7 separate regions of the Homo sapiens genome follow, and regions 1, 2, 3, 5, 6 and 7 are each linked to region 4. Evidence: promoter capture Hi-C in 16 types of primary human blood cells and fetal thymus (Javierre and others, 2016). All regions are on one chromosome and are shown on one strand. The core of a region is centred on a gene start or on the middle of the fragment in contact, and the rest is flanking DNA. Distances in the headings are between cores, read along the strand shown.

Evidence for each region. The method cuts DNA at HindIII sites, captures the fragments that hold promoters and counts their contacts. A CHiCAGO score of 5 or more calls a contact.
Region 1: a fragment that was not itself captured here is called in contact with the fragment with the promoter of DORIP1 in region 4 in 13 of 17 cell types (total CD4 T cells, naive B cells, naive CD4 T cells and 10 more); the score reaches 38.6 in total CD4 T cells.
Region 2: a contact is called between a fragment that was not itself captured here and the fragment with the promoter of DORIP1 in region 4, in 9 of 17 cell types (total CD4 T cells, naive CD8 T cells, total CD8 T cells and 6 more). The highest score is 20.9, in total CD4 T cells.
Region 3: a fragment that was not itself captured here is called in contact with the fragment with the promoter of DORIP1 in region 4 in 5 of 17 cell types (total CD4 T cells, naive CD8 T cells, activated CD4 T cells and 2 more); the score reaches 17.9 in total CD4 T cells.
Region 5: a contact is called between a fragment that was not itself captured here and the fragment with the promoter of DORIP1 in region 4, in 12 of 17 cell types (non-activated CD4 T cells, total CD8 T cells, activated CD4 T cells and 9 more). The highest score is 27.6, in non-activated CD4 T cells.
Region 6: a contact is called between a fragment that was not itself captured here and the fragment with the promoter of DORIP1 in region 4, in 3 of 17 cell types (total CD4 T cells, activated CD4 T cells and naive CD4 T cells). The highest score is 9.1, in total CD4 T cells.
Region 7: a contact is called between a fragment that was not itself captured here and the fragment with the promoter of DORIP1 in region 4, in 12 of 17 cell types (total CD4 T cells, non-activated CD4 T cells, naive CD8 T cells and 9 more). The highest score is 19.9, in total CD4 T cells.

Annotation. Positions count from the first base shown.
Region 1 is chr14:39,121,000-39,123,963 of GRCh38, forward strand. It overlaps GEMIN2 (gem nuclear organelle associated protein 2), which reads left to right. Exons shown (of 10, transcript NM_003616.3): 5 at 1,431-1,544. Among named protein-coding and RNA genes, the nearest start is that of GEMIN2, 8.2 kb to the left of the region's middle. The HindIII fragment of the contact is 5,325 bases long and covers 1-2,964 here.
Region 2 is chr14:39,080,125-39,082,824 of GRCh38, forward strand. All of the region lies in intron 7 of SEC23A (SEC23 homolog A, COPII component), which reads right to left. Among named protein-coding and RNA genes, the nearest start is that of SEC23A-AS1, 22 kb to the right of the region's middle. The HindIII fragment of the contact is 258 bases long and covers 1,172-1,429 here.
Region 3 is chr14:39,059,476-39,062,332 of GRCh38, forward strand. It overlaps SEC23A (SEC23 homolog A, COPII component), which reads right to left. Exons shown (of 20, transcript NM_006364.4): 13 at 2,290-2,396. Among named protein-coding and RNA genes, the nearest start is that of SEC23A-AS1, 42 kb to the right of the region's middle. The HindIII fragment of the contact is 9,282 bases long and covers 1-2,857 here.
Region 4 is chr14:44,895,717-44,898,633 of GRCh38, forward strand. It overlaps DORIP1 (dopamine receptor interacting protein 1), which reads left to right and starts at 1,559. Exons shown (of 5, transcript NM_001017923.2): 1 at 1,559-1,852. RefSeq lists enhancers at 1,204-1,253, 1,878-2,377 and silencers at 1,744-1,873, 1,894-2,213. The HindIII fragment of the contact is 3,873 bases long and covers 1,218-2,917 here.
Region 5 is chr14:39,159,987-39,162,686 of GRCh38, forward strand. All of the region lies in intron 1 of TRAPPC6B (trafficking protein particle complex subunit 6B), which reads right to left. Among named protein-coding and RNA genes, the nearest start is that of TRAPPC6B, 9.0 kb to the right of the region's middle. The HindIII fragment of the contact is 1,992 bases long and covers 262-2,253 here.
Region 6 is chr14:39,035,594-39,038,598 of GRCh38, forward strand. The region is part of intron 19 of SEC23A (SEC23 homolog A, COPII component); the gene reads right to left. Among named protein-coding and RNA genes, the nearest start is that of SEC23A-AS1, 66 kb to the right of the region's middle. The HindIII fragment of the contact is 4,681 bases long and covers 1-3,005 here.
Region 7 is chr14:39,183,663-39,186,576 of GRCh38, forward strand. No RefSeq gene overlaps it. Among named protein-coding and RNA genes, the nearest start is that of PNN-AS1, 9.2 kb to the left of the region's middle. The HindIII fragment of the contact is 9,645 bases long and covers 1-2,914 here.

The DNA of each region.
Region 1 (2,964 bases), core at 33-2,532, 5.8 Mb before region 4:
CAAATAGTCCTGCGTCCTGCTTTTTCTGTCTGGCAGCATGAGTAGATCTGTTTCTTCTTTGACTGGACAACCCTTCAAATATGTGAAATATGTAATCATGTCTCTTTACATGGGATAAATATCCTTCATTCTATTAAGTGTTCTTGGTGCATTTTTTCCCCCATACTTATTTCTGTCTTTATCATCCTCTTTTGGACACACCATTGTCTGTCAGTGTCCACTAAAGTCTTGTCCAAACTAAACACATCTTGGCTGGGCACAGTGGCTCACACTTGTAATCCCAGCACTTTGGGAAGCCAAAGCAGAAGAATTGCTTGAGGCCAGGAGTTTGAGACCAGCCTGGGCAACATAGTGAGACAACTATCTCTACAAAAAAAATTTAAAAATTATCAGGCATGGTGGCACATGCCTGTAGTCCCAGCTACTCAAGAGGCTGAGGTGGCAGAATTATTTGAGCCCGAGATTCAGGCTGCAATGAACTGTAATCACACCTCTGCACTCCAACTTGGGCGACAGAGCAAGACCCTGTCTCAAAAAATGTAATAATAAGGAAAAACAACATGTCCCACATATTGTGTAGCCACTTAGGCACTATGTTTGTCAGGGCTGCCATAACAGACTAGGTGGATTAAACAACAGAAATGTATTTATTTTCTCAGTCTTGAAGGCTGAAAGTCAAAGAACAAGGTGGCAGCAAGGTTGGTCTCTTTTTGTTTGTTTGTTTGTTTTTTGAGGCAGAGTTTCGCTCTTGTTGCCCAGGCTAGAGTGCAATGACGCAATCTCTGCTCACTGCAGCCTCCGCCTCCCAGGCTCGAGTGATTCTCCTGCCTCAGCCTCTGGGTAGCTGGGATTACAGGTGTGCACCACCACATCCGGCTAATTTTTTTTTTTTTTGTATTTTTAGTAGAGGTGGGGTTTTGCCATGTTGGCCAGGCTGGTCTTGAACTCCTGACTTCATGTGATCGCCTGCCTCGGCCTCCCAAAGTGCTGGGATTACAGGCGTGAACCACCGCACCCGGCCTAAGGTTGGTCTCTTCTGAGGCTTTTCTCCTTGGCTTGCATAGGGCCACCTTCTCCCTGTTTTCTCACGTGGTCTTTCCTCTGTGTGTGGGAGTCCCTGGTGTCTCTTTGTGAATCCAAATTTCCTCTTATAAGGACACTAGTAAGATTGGATTACGGCTCACCCTAATGGCCTCAATTTAAATTAATCACTTCTTTAAAGGCCCTGTCTCCAAATACAGTCACATTCTGAGGTACTGGAGTTTAAGGTTTTAACATACAAATTTGGGGGCAGAGATTCTCCCCATAACTGGCTCCGTATCTTTGGGTTGCGGTAATGGGAATATGGAAGGACTTAACTTCTTTTTTTTTACTGTTCAGTGTAAAAATTAATACACAGGAATAAATCAGTTTTTTTTTTTTTCTTTTAGCCAAAATCTGAAGATGAAGAAGGCTGGAAGAAATTTTGTCTGGGTGAAAAGTTATGTGCTGACGGGGCTGTTGGACCAGCCACAAATGAAAGTCCTGGAATAGATTATGTACAAGTAAGGGCTGTGTGGATAAACAGAACAAAAAGCATTTTAATTTTGGTGCACCACTTAATATAAGGGGTCAGCAAACTCTACCCTGGGCCAAGTCCAGTTCATGGCCTTTTTTATATCCATGAGCTAAGGATTGTTTTTAGGTTTTGAAAGAGTAAAAAAGAAACAAATAATATGTGGCTGAGACTTTATGTGGCCTGCAAAGCCTAAAATATTTGCTGTCTGACTCTTGATAGAAAATGTTTGCCAACCCAGACTTAGTTTATTAGCTCTTCAACCTAACAAAACAGCTTAGTTTCTGAAACAATTTACTGTGACTTTTTTTAGTTTGGCTTCATATCCCTTATGTTTGGCTTGGTAATCATTTTATGAGTTGGATAAGATTCATAGTTTTTTTAAATGATGAGGCATCAGGCAAACAGTGTTATGAGTAGCCAGGGAAAAAATGGAAATCGACACAATTAGATGCTTTAAAATGCATAATCACATCTATCACTTCATGGGCCTGTAAAAAATAAATCACATATTCTAAAGATGAAATGTTGAGGATATCTTTAAAATTCATGTGGCTGTAATCATAAGTTATGTAGACAACTCCTTGTCCTTCAGGATTTACCTGCCCCCAAGTTTGCAGGTGTTCCTTGAGAATCCAGTGCATGCCTCTGCATTAGCGCTTACTCCCTATAGCATGTAGTTCTTTTCAGTTCAACAGGTATTTATTATTTGCTATATGGTGCCACATTGTGTTTTTCACATTTAAAACTAATTTTTCCTAAAAATGTAAAAAGCCCCAAGAATCAATAAAAAGACCAAGAATCACCCCTCCCCTGCCCAAGAAAAAATAGCCAAAGGATATAGATACCTCACAGAAAGGAAATAAAATTATTCTTATATGACAAGATGCCAAAAATCACTTGTAATAGAAGTATAACATAACTATGCCAAGGTGCTATTTTTCAGGTAACATATTGGCCAAGAAAGTTTGATACACCATATTGACAAGAGCTGGGGAAACAAGCACTCTTAGACGTGGTACAGGAGTATAAATAGACTCAAATCTTAGGGAAGTTAATTTGGTACTCTTTCTATATAACCAATTGATCTTTTGGATGATATCCTTAACATATGCTACATTTCAAAAATAGCTATATATATATATATATATATATTTTTTTTTTTTTTTTTTTTTTTTTTTTTTGAGACAGGGTCTTCTTCCGTCATCCAGGCTGGAGTGCAGTAGTGCACTCATAGCTCATTACAGCTTCAACCTCCTGGGCTCAAGCAATCCTCCCACGTCAGCCTTCAACATACCAGGGGCAGCAGGCACCCACCACCACACCCAGCTAATTTTTAAATTTTTTGTAGCGATAAGTTTTTTAATTTTTTAAAAAAATTTTTTTGTAGAGAGAAGTTTTCACCATGT
Region 2 (2,700 bases), core at 51-2,550, 5.8 Mb before region 4:
CAACTGGAGGGAAAAAAAAGCCACTAAATCCCCGTGAACTGTATCTCTCATGCTCTCATTGCAATTCTCCAAAAAGATCAAGGGCAGTTTGGGAAGAAGTACACAGAAGAGAGAAGAGGGAAACAAACAGCAGGCCTAGAAGAACGACTACAGATTCAAATGAAAACTTGGTAAGAGGCACTAAAGAAAAGAAAAAAACCAAGAGAATGAAAATGAAATAAAGAAATAAAAAGATGGCTGAAATAAAAAGCAAGCAAAGAAGAGTCAATTTATATATAACGGCAGTTGTTTTTTTCTTTTGAGACAGAGTCTTGCTCTGTCGGCCAGGCTGGAGTGCAGTGACATGATCTCGGCTCACTGCAACCTCTGTCCACGGGTTCAAGCAATTCTCCTGCCTCAGCCTCCCAAGTAGCTGGGATTACAGGCGTGTGCCACCGCCCCCGGCTAATTTTTGTATTTTTAGTAGAGATGAGATTTCACCACGTTGGCCAGGCTGGTCTCGAACTCCTGACTTCAGGTAATCCGCCTGCCTCGGCCTCCCAAAGTGCTGGGATTACAGGCATGAGCCACTGCGCCTGGCCGGGAGTTCTTAAATAAAATAAAACAATGGAACAAAACTACTATTTAAAGCTATAAGACAACTTTATAGGAAAAAATACTATAAGACAACTTTATAGGAAAAAATACATATAAAGAGGGCCTACCACATACTAGAGAAAATTAACCTGCAACAAAAACCCTACAAGATAAAAAAAAAATTCCTCAAGACCTTGAAGCAAAATGATCAAATAATTTACAAGGGCAAGAAAATAAGGCTGGTATCAGCCTTCTCAAAAAACATCAGCCAAGGTGGTAGGATCACTTGAGACCAGGAGTTTGAGACCTGTCTGGGCAACATGGCAAGACTCTGTCTCTACAAATTTAAAAAGTAGCTGGGCATAGTGGCATGGGCCTATAGTCCCAGCTACTTGGGAGGAGTCTGAGGCTGGAGGACTGCTTGAGACCAGGAGTTTGAGGTTGCAGTGCTGCAGTAAGCTATGATCACGTACTGCACTCCAGCCTGAGCAACAGAGGCTCTGTTTAAAAAAAAAAAAAAACACACACACATCAAGGTAAGAAAATAATGAAAAAGCATTTTCCAAAACCTCCAGGAAAAAAAAATTAGAACCAAAGCTTTTTATATCCAACCAAGCTATTCTTCAACTATCAGAACCACAGGAAAAAAGTTTAAACATTCAACAGCCCAAGAAATTCTGTACTCTTAAGTCTTCTTAAGAAATTTACTAGAAGATACAAATAAAACTTACAGCAAAGAATAACATAATCACACTAAGGGCAGTGGAGGGGAATAACCCACTTAACTTTTGAACATTATATTTTGTACTATATATTCTCAGAACATTAAACAAATACTGGGCTCTAACTCCTAAGCTTCTTTCTAACAGAGGTATGAGCTAGAAACTCTGAAACTATTCTATATATTCTAGGACTGAGCAAATAAGTAAATATATTTGATAACGGGAGCAGGTTTCTCATAGAGAATGAGTTACAAATATGGAAAAGTGGGAAGGATAGAATAAACCCTGTGGTACTGAATTGAACATACCTGAAAGAAACATTGGTTTTTAATATAAAATTTTTTTTATTTTAATAGAGATATAGATGCATATTGGAGTATGCAGACATATATGCACACACATATACTTATGATTTTATATACATCTATAGATACATATATATGCACATACATCTTCTTCTTAGCTCCATCCGCTGGGACCTAGAATTAATGACACCCAGGGTAAGGGTGCACATGAAGCATTATCTTCTTGGTAGAACCAAGGCTAAAAGGAAACAGGGCTCCTAAGTGGTTTCATTTCAGGTCCAGAGCAGGAAAAGGATAAGATGAGCCCTGAACAACTTACTATACCAGAAAGGAAGTATTTAAGCAAACATGCGGCATTTAATAAGGACCCAGAAGCAGCTTGAAGAGGCTCCCACTAGCCAAATCGGGGAAAACTTAAGCATCAAAGTAAATTATGATAGTAAAGGAATGTATCTTGTTGTATAAAATAAGAATGTAAGAATACACCCAGTGTGTATTCTGTATGTATTTACATATATATATGTGTATATAAATTTATATATATATAAATACGTAAATGGGAGAGGAGAGAAAGCTCTTCCTCAAGTAGAAAGCCAATTAATAAAAGTAGAAATGATGGAATTAGAAAGCCACTATTTGGCATGCATCATAATAATAATTGATCAGAAAAGAATCATCAATGGATGCTAAACTAGTGGGTAAAAGTTTGCTGAGTACACTGGTTATTCACATATTTTCAAGGTATCTCCTAATAAGATATTTATAATTACAATAGGAAAACCTGTAACTTTACAGTGACAAAAACAACCTTAACCAAGTAAGGAAAGTTAACATCAGCAGTAATGAAATAAATCAACATGGGGGTTCCTAATATTTTGCAATGTTTATTAATTACAAAGGGGTAAAAAAAGAGTAATTTTAAAGTGGAGAGCCCTGGCAGATACTACCTTAATGAATGACCAAAGTGAATATCATCAGTAACAGAACAAATGAAAACCATGTGCCACCTGTAAAATGTAACAATAAGAACACAGCATTACTTCTGTGATATTCCTCCCAAAGATGCAAGACCTGAATCAAATTACGAGAATACTTCA
Region 3 (2,857 bases), core at 60-2,559, 5.8 Mb before region 4:
TCTCATAAGACAGCACCCTGTCTCTTGAAAGAGTCACCTAACCTTTTAAAATTTTCATTTTAAAAATATTTCAAACATAAAGACAGTAAGAGTGGAATAAACTCCTATATAACCATCACCTAGATTCATCAGTTGTTAGCATTTTAACACATCTGCATTATCATTCTCTCTCTCCATTTATATACACATTTTTTGCTGAACTTTTCTAGATTAAGTTGGAGATATTATGACCTTCTGCCTGAAATACTTCAGTGTATATCTCCTAAGAACAAAAAATTTTCTTATATAGCTCCAATTATTAAACTCATGAAATCTAACACTGATATAATGCCATTATCATATAGAAAGAGACTATATTCATATTTCCCCAATTGTCTAATAATGGCTTCTAAAGCAAAATTTTTCCCTGACATTTGCATTTTGTCCATGATCACACATTGGCATTAGTGGTAATGTTTCTTTAGTATCCTTTAATCTGGATCAGTTGCTCAGACTTTCTTTGTCTTCCAAGACATTTTTGAATAGTACAAACCAGTGACTTTGTAAGTTGTAAAAAGTCCTTCATTTGGTATGTCGTTGTTTCCTTAAGCAAATGTTCTGAATGTCAAATTTAATGTGTGCACACACATGTGTGTGTGTGTGCACACACGTTGAGAGCCATAAATAAACTGAGAAGTTTGCCAAGCATCAGTACTTCCAAGTTCCTTATCTGAAATCTGAATAAATCTAAGGGAAGGTTCAGCTGACATTTTTTCTTCAAATGAATAATGTATCCCCTTGACATTGTTCCAGGATGTTAAGTCAAAGCAAGGTAACAGAACAGAACACTAAATCTATGTACAACCCTGTGCTAAGTAATAGATCACCCAATACAGCTAATACTCAGTTCAAATGTTGTGTTCATGTCCATCACTCAACAAAAGTCTTAAGATTTTCAGGAATGAAGCTAGAGTTTAAGTACACTTAATGAAAATGAGAGCTACAAATGCCTTCCTTGTCCATTGTCGAGACCATGACTAAACTGGGTAAGTTTACTGATCAACACTTTTCCTATCCAGACAACCAAGTTCAAGACAAACAGAAATAAAGACCAAAGCCTGTTCATTTCTAGATTCACCTCATCTAAAAAACCTCTTCCTAACTAAACTCATTCCACAATTATTTTCCTTTTGTTTTATACTTCACAAATACACAGAGATACCAAAGTAGCAGAGAAATAATTTATTCGTAATTCTTAATAAAAAGAAAGGTACTAAATTCAGTTAAATTTGTTGTCTCTGCAAATGCTGGGCAAAGAGCCCATGAACAAATACATGCCTTATTTGGAAAATCTATCACAAAGATAGGAATAAGAAAAGGTATCTGTTGGGCCTTATTATTCCCTTCTGGGGACCCTGCCTATATCAATAAATTAGAACATGACTATGTTACACAAAATACTACCCTATAATTGAATCTGTTAGATAGAGACTTTACCTTTTGTGGTCTCAACAAGTGCTAGTCAAAGTGTGGTATGTGAACCAGTGCCATGAAGTCAAAAGAGGAACTGAGAATAAATATTTAGAAACTGAGCAACTTCACAAAATAATCTTATATCTTATTAATCTAATAATATAAAACAGGGAGTTTGTTTTAAATCACTTTTTAAAATTTCATTTTTCTAGTAATTCATTTTTATTGTATTTAATAAAAGCATCTGTACCCGAAGGATTAGGAAAAAAAACACAACTGGCCCTTTACCACAGACAATGTGAGGATGACTCTATACCACACTGTCATACAGCAGGAGGCTAAGTACGTTCACGGCTTCCGCATTCATACTCTCCTAAAACAGAACCTACTCCACAAAGCAGAAGCTGAGTAATGGCATAATAAATGAATTAAATGACTAATAAAACTTGAAAAAAAAATAGCTAAGAATTTTTATCACTAATTGAAAAGTAATGTGATTAATTACTGTGCTATATCATTTATATATATAATGGATTATATATATTATTATTGACTATTATAGGTAAATATCTGATTTTTCTCCTCTCACAGGAATGAGGTAAATAAAATAATATTTTGAAGGGTGTGTCTTAGAAGTACTTTTTAAAATTGCTCTTACGGTTCTTAGTAATGCATATTGTAGCAAATAAGCTGGGTTAGAAAGAAATAAATAAAATACTATTAGTCACAAATATTCACTTGCTAGTCATGGATGTCACCCAAAATAGGAATCCAGTTTGGAAACACAACCCAGATACCTGTGATATGAAAATCAAATCTCTAACAAATACAACTTACTTCCTAGCAATGGTGGTCACTCGGATGCGTCTCTGCCCACTTGAATGCTGATACTGAGTCACAAACTGGATTGCACCACGCCCTCCTTGAGGAATTGGAGCATTATGCTGTATAAATATAATGGAGTAAAACCTAAGCAAAATTTACTATGCTGTTGTCATATAATCACAGGCTACATGTCCTAGCACTAAAAATAATTCATTCTAAAATTGATTAGAAGGATACTTATTTCCAGTGCATTCAAAACAGTTATAATTTGTTACACAGAAGAGGAGAAATTAATTTGGAGAGGAGGAAAATAATCAAGAATGATAGAAGTCAGTCCTGCTAGGAAATCAATTTTCAAGTAATATATAAGCCAGAGGGACATGAAAGAACAAAGAAAAGGGAGAGCACAAAGAAATTAAAAGACAATTCCTAAGTGAAGCCATTTAAGCCAAACTGCACAGATTGAATATCCCTTATCCAAAATGCTTGGGACCCGAAATGTTTTGGATTTTGTATTTTTTTAAACTCAGGAATATTTGCCTTATACCAATTGAAGATCCCCAAATCCAAAAATCCAAAA
Region 4 (2,917 bases), core at 309-2,808:
CTATATATTCTATGCCAATTATACTTCAGTAAATATATCTAAAAAAACCCTACAACTCAGATGTCAGATTTTGAAGACGGTGGAAAAGATGCAGAATGGAAATTTCAGTTAAAGGCCTCAGTGATGTTTGTGAGTTATCCAAGTATTCAAGGAATCCATGCTTCCTCCATCTAGCTGAGACTCGGCAGAGTTTAATGAGCAATCTCAATACTATTCTCCAGAAATGGTGTCATCCACCATACTATGGCTGTTTTCAGGAAGAGAATGACCTAATCAGTATAAAATGAACTCCATGTCTTGTGAGAGATTTATAATTAAACACATAATCCACATTTACAAACATTTTTAAAGGGCTTTTCTACCTGTAGGAGAGGATTAATATTGAGAGTGAACTTTTTGCAAGTTTTCCAACACACTAGTTTATCTCTAAGAGCCTCAGTTTCCTCATCTATAAAATACCATAAGAAATAAGAAAAAACAGGAAACTAAAAAGAGCAGGCTTTGCCAGAGCTATTAATTATTCTTTTTTGGGCAGAGCCAAAACTCAAGAAATGGAAGTCTCTCTTCCATTTCTAGACTTTTTTAGAGAGATCCATGAGGAAGTTCCCCTCCATAGCTTTGGCCGACCATCACACCGGTCAAGAAGGCATCCAGCCTCTCCCAGGCTCAGCCTGTGACGGAAAACCACACTGATTTACTAGGATAGCCTTGAGCTCTCTCATTAGCCCTCACGTGTTCTGAACGTTAGAGCTAACTTTCCAGACCCTCATTATTTGTTGAAAGGCTGGATGGGGAAAATCTCAACCAGATCTCCATGCCTACTTGCAAGGAGAGGTAGTTTTTGCAGGGTGGCCTGTGTTCTCCAGATGCAGAGCCATACAGGGCCTTGCTTCTTTACGGGAGATACAAAAACTCGGCCCTAATAAACAGAAATAGTGGTTGAGCCCACAAACTAGCATTAAGTTGTCCTAACTGTAATTTCCAGCTCCGTCACTTGCTGTGTGGGACCTTATTATCTCCAAAACCCAATTTTTTCAACTTCACAATGGAATTAAAACAATCTAATTTTTCAAAATGGGGTTAACTTCCACTGTAAGTTACAGTATATTGGCCAATAATTAACTTGAACACTAAAGCTGGCATTTAACAGATCAATTCAACTGTTTTCTAAGTAAATACTTAAACGCTTAAAAAACCGTAATTTACTGAGAAAACAAAGCTTTCTTTCTAGGTTAAGAATTTGAGAAAACAAGACCCAGAAGCAAACTAAAATCAAGTCCTAAAATGGTACAAACCTCAAAAAGCCAATCAGGTTTGCCAATAAAGCTCCGCCTCCGTGCAAACTCTGCCCACTTCCGGCTTCCCCACCCACCTTCTACCAGTGGAACCCCGCCCCTCTCTGCGAGGTCCCGCCCCCCACACCTGATCCTGGTTCCCATTGGGCGAATCTGGATGCTGTATACACAGCCGACACACGCACATTAGGCTGGGGCGTCTTCGCGCCTGCGCAGCTGCGCTGTCAGGCGGCTGAAAACGGGGGGGTTGGGGGGAGGGGGGCGGAGGTCGTGCCGAATCTTCCTCCGTAATAAGAAGCGACGTGTCCCACTGTCCTGGCTCCGTGGGTCCAGTGAGATTGGGCCTGGGCGCTGGAGCTGCTGTGGCTCCCGCCGCGGCGGCTGCCATGGAGGCCATGCCAGAGCCCAGAACTCACGCCGGGGGAGGCCGAGACAGCCGGCGGTACTCATAGATGAGGCAGCGGCGGCGGCGGCGGCGGCGGCAGCCCGGGCTCTCCATGAGCAGGCGGCGGCGGCGACGGGTGCGGCGGCACCGGCAGTTTTCGGTCCCCAGGGAGGTACGAGGAGTTTGCTTCCTGGTGGACGGAGACTGGCCGGTGTGGGAACGCCTTCCGCGGCCCGGCCCTCCAGCCTATTTGTCCGCAGTTCTGAGCACTCGGCGGGGCACTGCCCGGGCAGAGGCGGGGGCGCCCAGCCGACTCGCGGGCCCCTAACTCGGGGACCCGCCCGCCTCGGTGCCAGGCCTCCCGGGCGCGGCTGCCCAGGGCCAGGGTGGGCGTGGCCGGAACGTGGGGGCTCCCCGGGGGCGCACGCCTAGCGTCCGCCTTGTCCCTGTCCCGAAGTCCCGCGCTGCTGGGAGCGGTAGCGCGTGGCTGTACAGGCGTATTTTAGGCGCTGATTTGAGAGGGGACTTTTAGAATCCCTGAGTCCTTAGGGAGTCTGGCGTTCAATGCCTTGGGCATGTGGTGGGGTCCTCACGGCTAGCTTGGGGTACCAATTTCCTCCCTTGGAAGTCACCACGAAAGAAAGATGTTTTGTCAAAGAAATAGAGGTCAGGAGAGTTTTCCAGGTTTATTCAAATTGGAGGGCCCGTAGAGCCTGGAGAATAAAGCCAGCGGAATACATCCTCCAGTCCTTCTAATTACAGTTCCTAGCTAAACAGCTAAGACAATTTTAAGTAAAGCTCTTCACAGCTATCTTTCCATCATTTTTCCCCACCCCTCATTTTTATTGCAATTTACTTTGGAACAAATCACCAAATTCATGATGAAACTAGTATCCTCTAGTTCTTCCAAACCTTCCCTCCTCCCGTTTTTTCCAGAGAAAGACTAAAGTTTCATGCCACATATGTCATTATAGTTTAATTCTCTTAGAGTGTAAGGGTAGTTACACTTCATTTGGTCATGTCTGAAGATAATGTGAAGAAAATATCCTAGAGATTTATGCTTCCTTCCCAATGCACTATTTTAGGAATCCGAACTCAGGCTCTTTAAGCAATCTTAAACCTTGCTACAAAGTTCTTTAAAATTCAACGGAAATAAATCAAACCATAAAGTTATTTTCGTTTTTAAAGTATTTGAATGCATAACTGTTTTTTAAAATCTTTGTAAACAAAACGAATC
Region 5 (2,700 bases), core at 8-2,507, 5.7 Mb before region 4:
TAATTTTTGTATTTTTAGTAGAGAAAATACAAAAATACAAAATGTTGGCCATGCTGGTCTCAAACTCCTGACCTCAAGCAATCCACCTGCCTTGGCCTCCCAAAGTGCAGGGATTACAGGCGTGAGCCACCGCGCCCAGACAGAAAGATACATTTTAAAACCACTTGGAAGGCCATCTCTATAGAAGTGATTTTCCCAGGATAGTAACCAGATGTAACCTAACCCAACACCATCTTAACTGTCAGAGGTTCAATGGGTTAAAGCTTTGTGCTCCTCCCTGACACCAAGTCTTTTAATAGAAACAAACCCCTCAAGACACGGTGGCTCATGCCTGTAATCCCAGCACTTTAGGAGGCCAAAGCAGGAGGATCACTTGAGCTCAATGGCTCAAGACCAGCCTGGGCAACATAGCAAGACCACATCTGTACTAAAAGTAAAAATAAAATAGCTGGGCATGGTAGCATGTGCCATTTTGGAGGCTGATGCAGGTGGATTGCTTGAGTCCAGGAAGTTGAGGCTGCACTGAGCCATGATCATGTCATTGCACTCCAGCCTGGGCAACAGGTTGAGCAAGGGACCCCATGAAAGAAAGAAAAGAGAAGAGAAGAGAAAGAAAAGAAAAGAAGAGGGGAGGGGAGGGGAGGGAAGGGAAGGGAAGGGAGAAAGAGAGAGAGAAAGAGACAGAAACAGAGAGAAAAGAGAAAGAAAATAATTTCACTATTGTTTTCTCTTAGAAGAGGAGAAAAATCCAACCTACTTAGGAGACCAACCACAACACAATGAAAAGTTGCACTAACTACTTCAGAATATTAGTAACAGCCGATGTTGGTAGGAATAACTGGTATTTATTCTAGAGTTCTTATAAATAAAATCCCACAGTTAGCATCTGCATTATCATCTAGAGGGTTAGTTAACACGTAGTAGAATGAGGACTTATGCAAGGTGTAATACACATAACATTTTACTACTATGAAAACAAATGCAGTCCAGTTAGGAGAAAACCAAGTGGATTCTAAGTTATACACACCTTAATGACAAGACTCCCCACCATTTGCGAATGTAAAAGAATTAATTTTTGAATGTTGACACTACAATATTTAAAATAGCTATTATAAATGCACATAATGTACTCCATGCTAGGTTTTTATTTCTTTGTTTGTTTAAGGAAACTGCAAGTTATACTGTGGTTAAGGCTTGTATCTTCACCCTTGAAAAGGCCCACATTCTATCACAGTAATGTATGGTCAGACTTAGCTCCAAATGTTAAACACTTGGATCAAGTAATAACCAGTTATATTGCAAAAGGAACCTATACACATTTATTTATCAACTCTAGTTCCTTAATAGCTACCTAACAAGTCATTAACTTACAGAAACATGCGTCATGAGAATGAAAAAATGTCACCCATCCCTTCTGCGTATTAGCAACTTGTCACTCCTGAGCAACAGTGCTTACGTCACTGAGGTCTATGAACAGTCACTTTTCACATTCATCCCAAAAGACGGAATGACTTAAGCACAAATGCAACATATTATAAATAATTTCTCCCCAAAAAGTCACAAATTAAACCAAAGTATTTTACAGAATTCATATAAAATGCCTTAAAATCTGCCTTCACTTAAGCTCGCTCACTCCGTGTCTGGCGAGCCAACTGGATGTCTTTGGGCATGAGAGCCAACTCTCTTACCGTAGATGGCACACAAATTAGCATCTTCAAACCAACCCACCAGGTACACTTCACTAGCCTCCAGGTACACTTCACTAGCCTCCTGCAGCACCCCAATGACTGTGCTCTGAAACCTAAAGTTGGTTTTGAAATCCTGGGTGATCTCTCTCACCAACCTCTAGAAAGGCAGCTTCCAGATGAGAAGCTAGGTCAATTTCTGGTAACGAGAATCTCTAGAAGTGCCACAGTCCCAGGCCCGTAGCGATGAGGTTTCTTCACCAGACCGGTAGAGGGGACACTTTTTTTCTGGCAGCGTTAATAACCTGCTGTTAGGAGGAGGGGCTCCCACCAGTGGATTTACAAGCACTTGTCTTGGCTTGGGCCATCTGCTTCTACCTAACATCAAAGTTTTAGGTCACTTCTTCAATCGCCACATTGCTTCTGCTGCCCAAGGAAAAACCGCAGTGTCCAAGCTAAGAATAGACGTTCCTCCAACAAAAGACCAAACTGCTATTTACTTATTTATTTGACAAGTCTTGCTCTGTCGCCCAGGCTGCAGTGCACTGGCGAGATCATGGTTCATTGAAGCTTTAAATTCCTGGGTTCAAGCAATCCTCCCACCTCAGTCTCCCAAGTAGCTAGGACTACAGGCACATCACCATGCCTGGCTATTTTTTTTTTTTTTAAGAGATGGGATCTCACTCTGTTACCCAGGCTGGTCTCAAAGTCCTGACCTCAAGATATCCTCCTGGCTTGGCCTCCCAAAGCTGTGGGACTACAGGTGTGAGCCACTGCACCTGGCACAAGGCAACAGGATAAACAGGGAACTACTGCTTATAATTGATTTTCAGAAATCAAATCCTCTTCCTAATTACTCCTCGTCTCCCTTTTATCCCAATTTCAATCATTCTTCTCTCCTAGGTTATAAAACCTGGTATCACCTTTGATGTTTTTCCCTGAGTCATTTGCTTTCTGCTCTAAGTTCTATTGTTCCTTGCTTCAAAATGTCTCAGAATCATCCAGGCTTCCCAGT
Region 6 (3,005 bases), core at 309-2,808, 5.9 Mb before region 4:
CCTCCCCAACTTTTAGAACTTTTGGACCTGGGATTCAATTTATTTACCTATATTACAAAAACTCTTAACTCCTAGCCACCTCCACAGATTTCCAATATTCTAATCTCTGCTCTCTCCTGTCCAGATCTATTGTATTCAATATATGCTATGTTTAAGGTCCTATGGAAAATCAAAAATGAAAATGACAGTTATTGCCTCAAGTAATTAATAATCTAACAGGAGCAATGCCATAAAAAATGGAGGCGGGAAAAGGGATGACAGGACAGGGATATTACACAAATTCAATCATGCAATTGTAGGACGGTGCTATGGTTTGAATATCTGTCCCTTCCAAAACTCATTTTGAAAATCCCCAATGTGGCAGTATAAAGGTGGGGCCTTTAAGAGGTGACTGGGTCATAAGGGTTCCGCCCTCATGAAACAATTAAAATCTATTCATGGATACTCCCAGGCACAGTGGCTCACACCTGTAATCCCAGCACTTTGGGAGGCAGAGGTGGGCAGATCACGAGATCAGAAGATCGAGACCATCCTGGCCAACATGGTGAAACTCCATCTCTACTAAAAATACCAAAAAAATTAGCTGAGTATGGTGGTGTGTGCCTGTAGTCCCAGCTACTCAGGAGGCTGAGGCAGGAGAATCGCTTGAACCCAGGAGGCAGAGGTTGCAGCGAGTCGAGATCGCGTCACTACACTCCAGCCTGGCAACAGAGCAAGACTCCGTCTCAAAAAAAAAAAAAAAAAAAAAAAAAGAACATTATGGAAGCATGCTCTAGATATTTTTAGTAAATAAAATAGGCCCTCACCACTGCTGCAAAAGCGTTTTATTAATCTTCAGTTGATTTTTGTATTCTTTAGAACTGTTTTTAATCTTTTCTAGTTTTTTTGGCCCCTAACTCCAGCCTTTTTCACTCCTAAATAATCTCATATTATTGAAAAGAAACAGGCAATTATCCAATGTGAGTTTTCACTCCACCTAAAAACCTTTCTGTCTTCACCCTTCTTACCTTTTGCTTTTGCAGAAATAAGTGCCCTGCCTCCTTACCAATGCTTAACGTCCATATACTGCTTATGATCATATTGTCTCCTGAGGATCTTAAATATCTGTTCTTTTGTGTCTTTCCTATGCTTGGTCTCCAAATAAGTTCTGTGCCCTTACCGTAATAACAATCATCTGCCTATCCTACTGCTTATCCTCAGGTTAAATTTGCAAAAGAATCATTTATACTTTCGACCTCCGCTTCTTTCTCACCCACTAATTCCTTATAAATTTATCTTCTTACTCAACCACCATACTAAAGCCGCTTACACAATGCCACGAATAACCTCCTAGCCATCAAATCCAAGCACCTTTTCTCACTCTGTATCCCTCTTCAACTGTCTGCGGCATGTCAGTTTGTTACCTCCTTCTTCTTCCTTCTATAAAGTCACCTTTTATGACATACTATTCTTTTCATTCTGCCTCTCTGATAATTCACTAAACACTCCTACCACTTGTACTCCCCTGAAGTTTTTGTCTCATCTCTCCTTTACCTCTTTACTCTCTCTTCAGACAAGCATTTACTGTGATGACTTTATCACCTTTCTCATTCTTGCCCTGACCATCAAACCCAAATTGCCAACAGCCCACTCAACATGGCCATAATCAATATGGTCATCTTATTGTGGCTCAATAAGGCCTTCTAGATAGTACCTCAAACTCAGTGTCTAAACCAAACAATTTCTCTCCACTCTCCCATTTATTGACATATGTTTTCCTAGTCACTCAGGCTTAAAACCCCAAAATACCCTGTTTCCCCTCACCTGTTTTTTAAAAATTCAAGACTACATTAAAGTTGAGAGAGAAGTACAATAAACACCCATATAGCATACCTACATTCACTGACTGTTAACATTTTGCCACGTATGCTTTATGTTTCTACATTATTTTTCCTTTTTTCTTCTTTTTGTTGAATAACTTCTGGAAGTTGAAGCCATCATGACATTTTATTCCTAAATACTTCAGGATGTATCTCCTAAGATCAAGAAGAATCTCCTACATAACCACACCATTATCACTCTCAAGAAATTTAATAATTCTGTACTAGTTATCTGATATATGATCTATATTCAAATCTCACAAATTATCCCAATTATGTTCTTTATAGCTATTCTCTCCCTTTAATCCAGGATTCAATCAGAATTCAGATTTTGTGCATAGTTGCCATGCCCTGGAATAATTACTTTCCTGCAACTTCTAATCAAGTCCTATTGAGTCTACTTTTAAAATATCTCCCAAATCTATTCCTTTCACCATCTTGCCTTTACTCCCTCTCACTTGGATTATTTTCGTAAATATACTTTCAACCTACAGACTGCTTCCATTTAATCTTAAGATTCAACTATACTAAGACTCAAATCTGCCCTCTGTCCACCTTCAATGACTCTCCATTACTTACCAAATAAATACTCAACTTCTCACTCCTCAACCTGACATTCAAGATCCTCCACAATTTACTTGTACAACACATTTCCGTTTTATGTTCTTCTAGTCAGCTCTGCATGTAGTCTTTTATCTTAGCCCATACTATTCTCTACCTAGATTTCCCTTCCTCATGCAATTTCCAATTACTGAAATAACCATTCTTTAAATGAAATGTTTCTTTTTTCTGAGCTCTTTTCTGATTACACACCCTCTTCCTGCTACCACTATGTGACCTCTTGCCATCTTCCTCTTCTAACCTTTGTAATACTTCATAGCTTTCTAAGGACAAATATCCCATTCTGCCTTGTAATTTACTTAGGTATGTATTTTATCTCTAATATTAGACTACAAGCTCTCCAAAGGCATGGGTAATAACTGCACCCTAAAGAGCCAATACAAAGTCCTAAACATACTGGACACTCAATAAATGTTGATATGTTATACCAAGAGGTTAACACTTTTTTTTTTTAAGAGATGGAGTCTTGCTATGTTGCCCAGGCTGGTCTCAAACTCCTGGCCTCAAGTGATCCTCCTGCCTCAG
Region 7 (2,914 bases), core at 322-2,821, 5.7 Mb before region 4:
TGCAGGGGCCATTTTAATCTTTTTTTTTTTTTTTTTTTTTCTCGGAGACAGGGTCTTAGTCTGTCACCCAGGCTGGAGTGCAGTGGCACAAACAATCTGACTGCAGCCTCGACCTCCTGGGTTCAAGGGATCCTCCCACCTCAGCCTACCAAGTACCTGGGACTACAGGTGTGCACCACCATTCCCAGTTAATTTTTTATTTTTTGTAGAGACAGGATCTCACTATGTTGCCCAGGCTGGTCTCGAACTCCTGGGCTCAAGCGTTACTCCTGCCTTGGCCTCTGAAAGTGCTGGGATTACAGGCGTGAGCCACCACTCTTGGTCTGTGTTCCAATTTTAGTATGTGCTGCTGAAGTGAGCACAGGAATTTTAATAACAGATTGTACTAACATTTTTAAGTGGTATTCATTTTTAGGTTGGAAGGTTTAATTTTTTAAATATAGTATTTTAGATTTTTTTGTTTCCGATCAGTGCTTTATCCTTGAACTAAAATTTTATGGAACTTAATGTTCAGAGAACCATGGAATTGCACTTGAAGAGACACAAGGAAGAAGAATGTAAAAGTAATGACAGTTTCCCAGGGGGAAAAGACATGCAGTAGTCTTTTTTTTTTTTTTTTTTTTTGAGATGGAGTCTCGTTCTGTCACCCAGGCTGGAGTGCAGTGGTGCGATCTCGGCTCACTGCAACCTCCGCCTCCCAGCTTCATGCAATTCTGCCTCAGCCTTCCAAGTAGCTGGGATTACAGGCGCACACCACCACACCTGGCTAATTTTTTTTTTTTTTTTTTTTTTTGTATTTTTAGTAGAGTTGGGGGTTTCACTGTGTTGGCCAGACTGGTCTCGAACTCCTGACATCGTGATCCGCCTGCCTTGGCCTCCCAAAGTGCTGGGATTACAGGCATGAGCCACGGCGCCCGGCTAACACGCAGTAGTCTTCCTACTGGAGATTACAAATTAGTGTTTATGGTTGAGTGCAGTGGCCTGTAATTCCCAACACTTTGGGAGGCTGAGGTGGAAAGATTGCTTGAGCCCAGGAGCCAGAGACCAACCTCGGCAACATGGCAAAAAACTGTCTACGAAGAGAAAAACTAGCCGATTGTGGTGGCATGAGCCTGAGTCCCAGCTACTCTGGAGGCTGAGACAGGAGGATTGCTTGAGCCCAGGAGGTTGAGGTGAAGTAGCTATGATCACACTACTGCACTCCAGCCTGGGTGACAGAGTGAGACCCTGTCTAAAAAATAACAAAAAAACCCAAATAGTGTTTATGGAAAACTTAGGAGCTGAAAGGGGATAGAGATGGTGAGTTAGGACTGAAATCAGTTTAGAGCTGTATTAGGAAAGACAGGCTGGGTGCTATGGCTCACACCTGTAATCCCAGCAATTTGGGAGGCTGAGGGTAGAGGATGGATGGCTTGAAGCCAGGAGTTCAAGACTGACCTGGGCATCAGCAAGAATCTATCTCTACAAAAAATAGAAAAATTTAGCCATGTGTGTACCTGTAGTTCTAGTTACTTCGGGGGCTGAGGTGGGAGGATTGCTTGAACCCAGGAGTTTGAGGTTATAGTGAGCTTTGATGGCACCACTGCACTCCATACTGGTGACAGACTGTCTAAAAAAAAAATTGGCAGAGATGTCTAAGGGGCTATTAAGGAAACATCTTTTAAGATACCAAGGTTTGGGTAACCACCAAAATAAAGATAGTTTGAACTTCAATGAGCTGTATTTCCAATCTAGGGTCCTTCTACACACTATCTGTAGAATGATAACAATTTACATGATTACTCAGGTAATTTGGGCAAAGCAAAAGCCACCATACCAATAATGTATTGACATAAATTCAAAAGGAAAGAGAGTAGTGATTACATGGGCCAATGCTATTAGAGTCAGTCAAGATGTGGGTTTAAAGTACATAAACAAGAATTTCTTTTATGGCTAATATTGTGTAAGAATTTTTTTATGACTAGTCAAACTTTAAAATATCTTCTGAAATCCAACGACAAATCCAACCCATTTTCCCTTTTTGAGGTTAAAATGAATGTTATTAAATCACATAGCCCAGAAAATGTAGCTATGTATTTGATTCAATACCACTACTCTAGTAAGCCAGTGGGGTAGAGACTACAACTTGGTAAAAATAAACGAGGTATCTGAGAATGTTTTTCTTACGCCTGTCTTTGTCTCAGCTAGCAGGACTTTTTTTTTTTTTTCTTTTTTTAAATAGAGATGAGAGTCTTGCCCTGTTGCCCAGGCTGGTCTCGAATTCCTGAGCTTAAGCGATCCTCCCATTTTGGCCATCCTAAGTGCTAAGATTACAGGTGTGAGCTACCATGTCCAGCCAATCTTTTCAAAAAAGGAACTTAAATAATTATACTAAAAAAAATGATGATACTCAAATGCCTGCAACTCCACTTTCCATGGCCAGTTGACTACCCTATTCAAATTTGTAATAGCTGCCACTCCTTGCCATGACTGTCCCAAAATCTTTGGTGTTGGCCGGGCACGGTGGCTCATGCCTGTAATCCCAGCACTTTGGGAGGCTGAGGCGGGCCCCTGATCATGAGGTCAGGAGATCAAGACCATCCTGGTTAACATGGTGAAAACCCCGTCTCTACTGAAAATATAAAAAATTTAGCCAGGCGTGGTGGTGGGCACCTGTAGTCCCAGCTACTCGGGAGGCTGAGGCAGGAGAATGGCATGAACCCGGGAGGCGGAGCTTGCAGTGAGCCGAGATGGCACCACTGCACTCCAGCCTGGGGGACAGAGCGAGACTCCATCAAAAAAAAAAAAAATCCTTGGTGTTAAGTGGCTTGGTCTCTCTTTCCCACTTTCTTTCCTCTCTTTCAGCACATCCAAATATGTTTGAAACAATGAGCCAAGTCACATCCTGAAATTTGTCCTCGTTTTCTTCCAAATA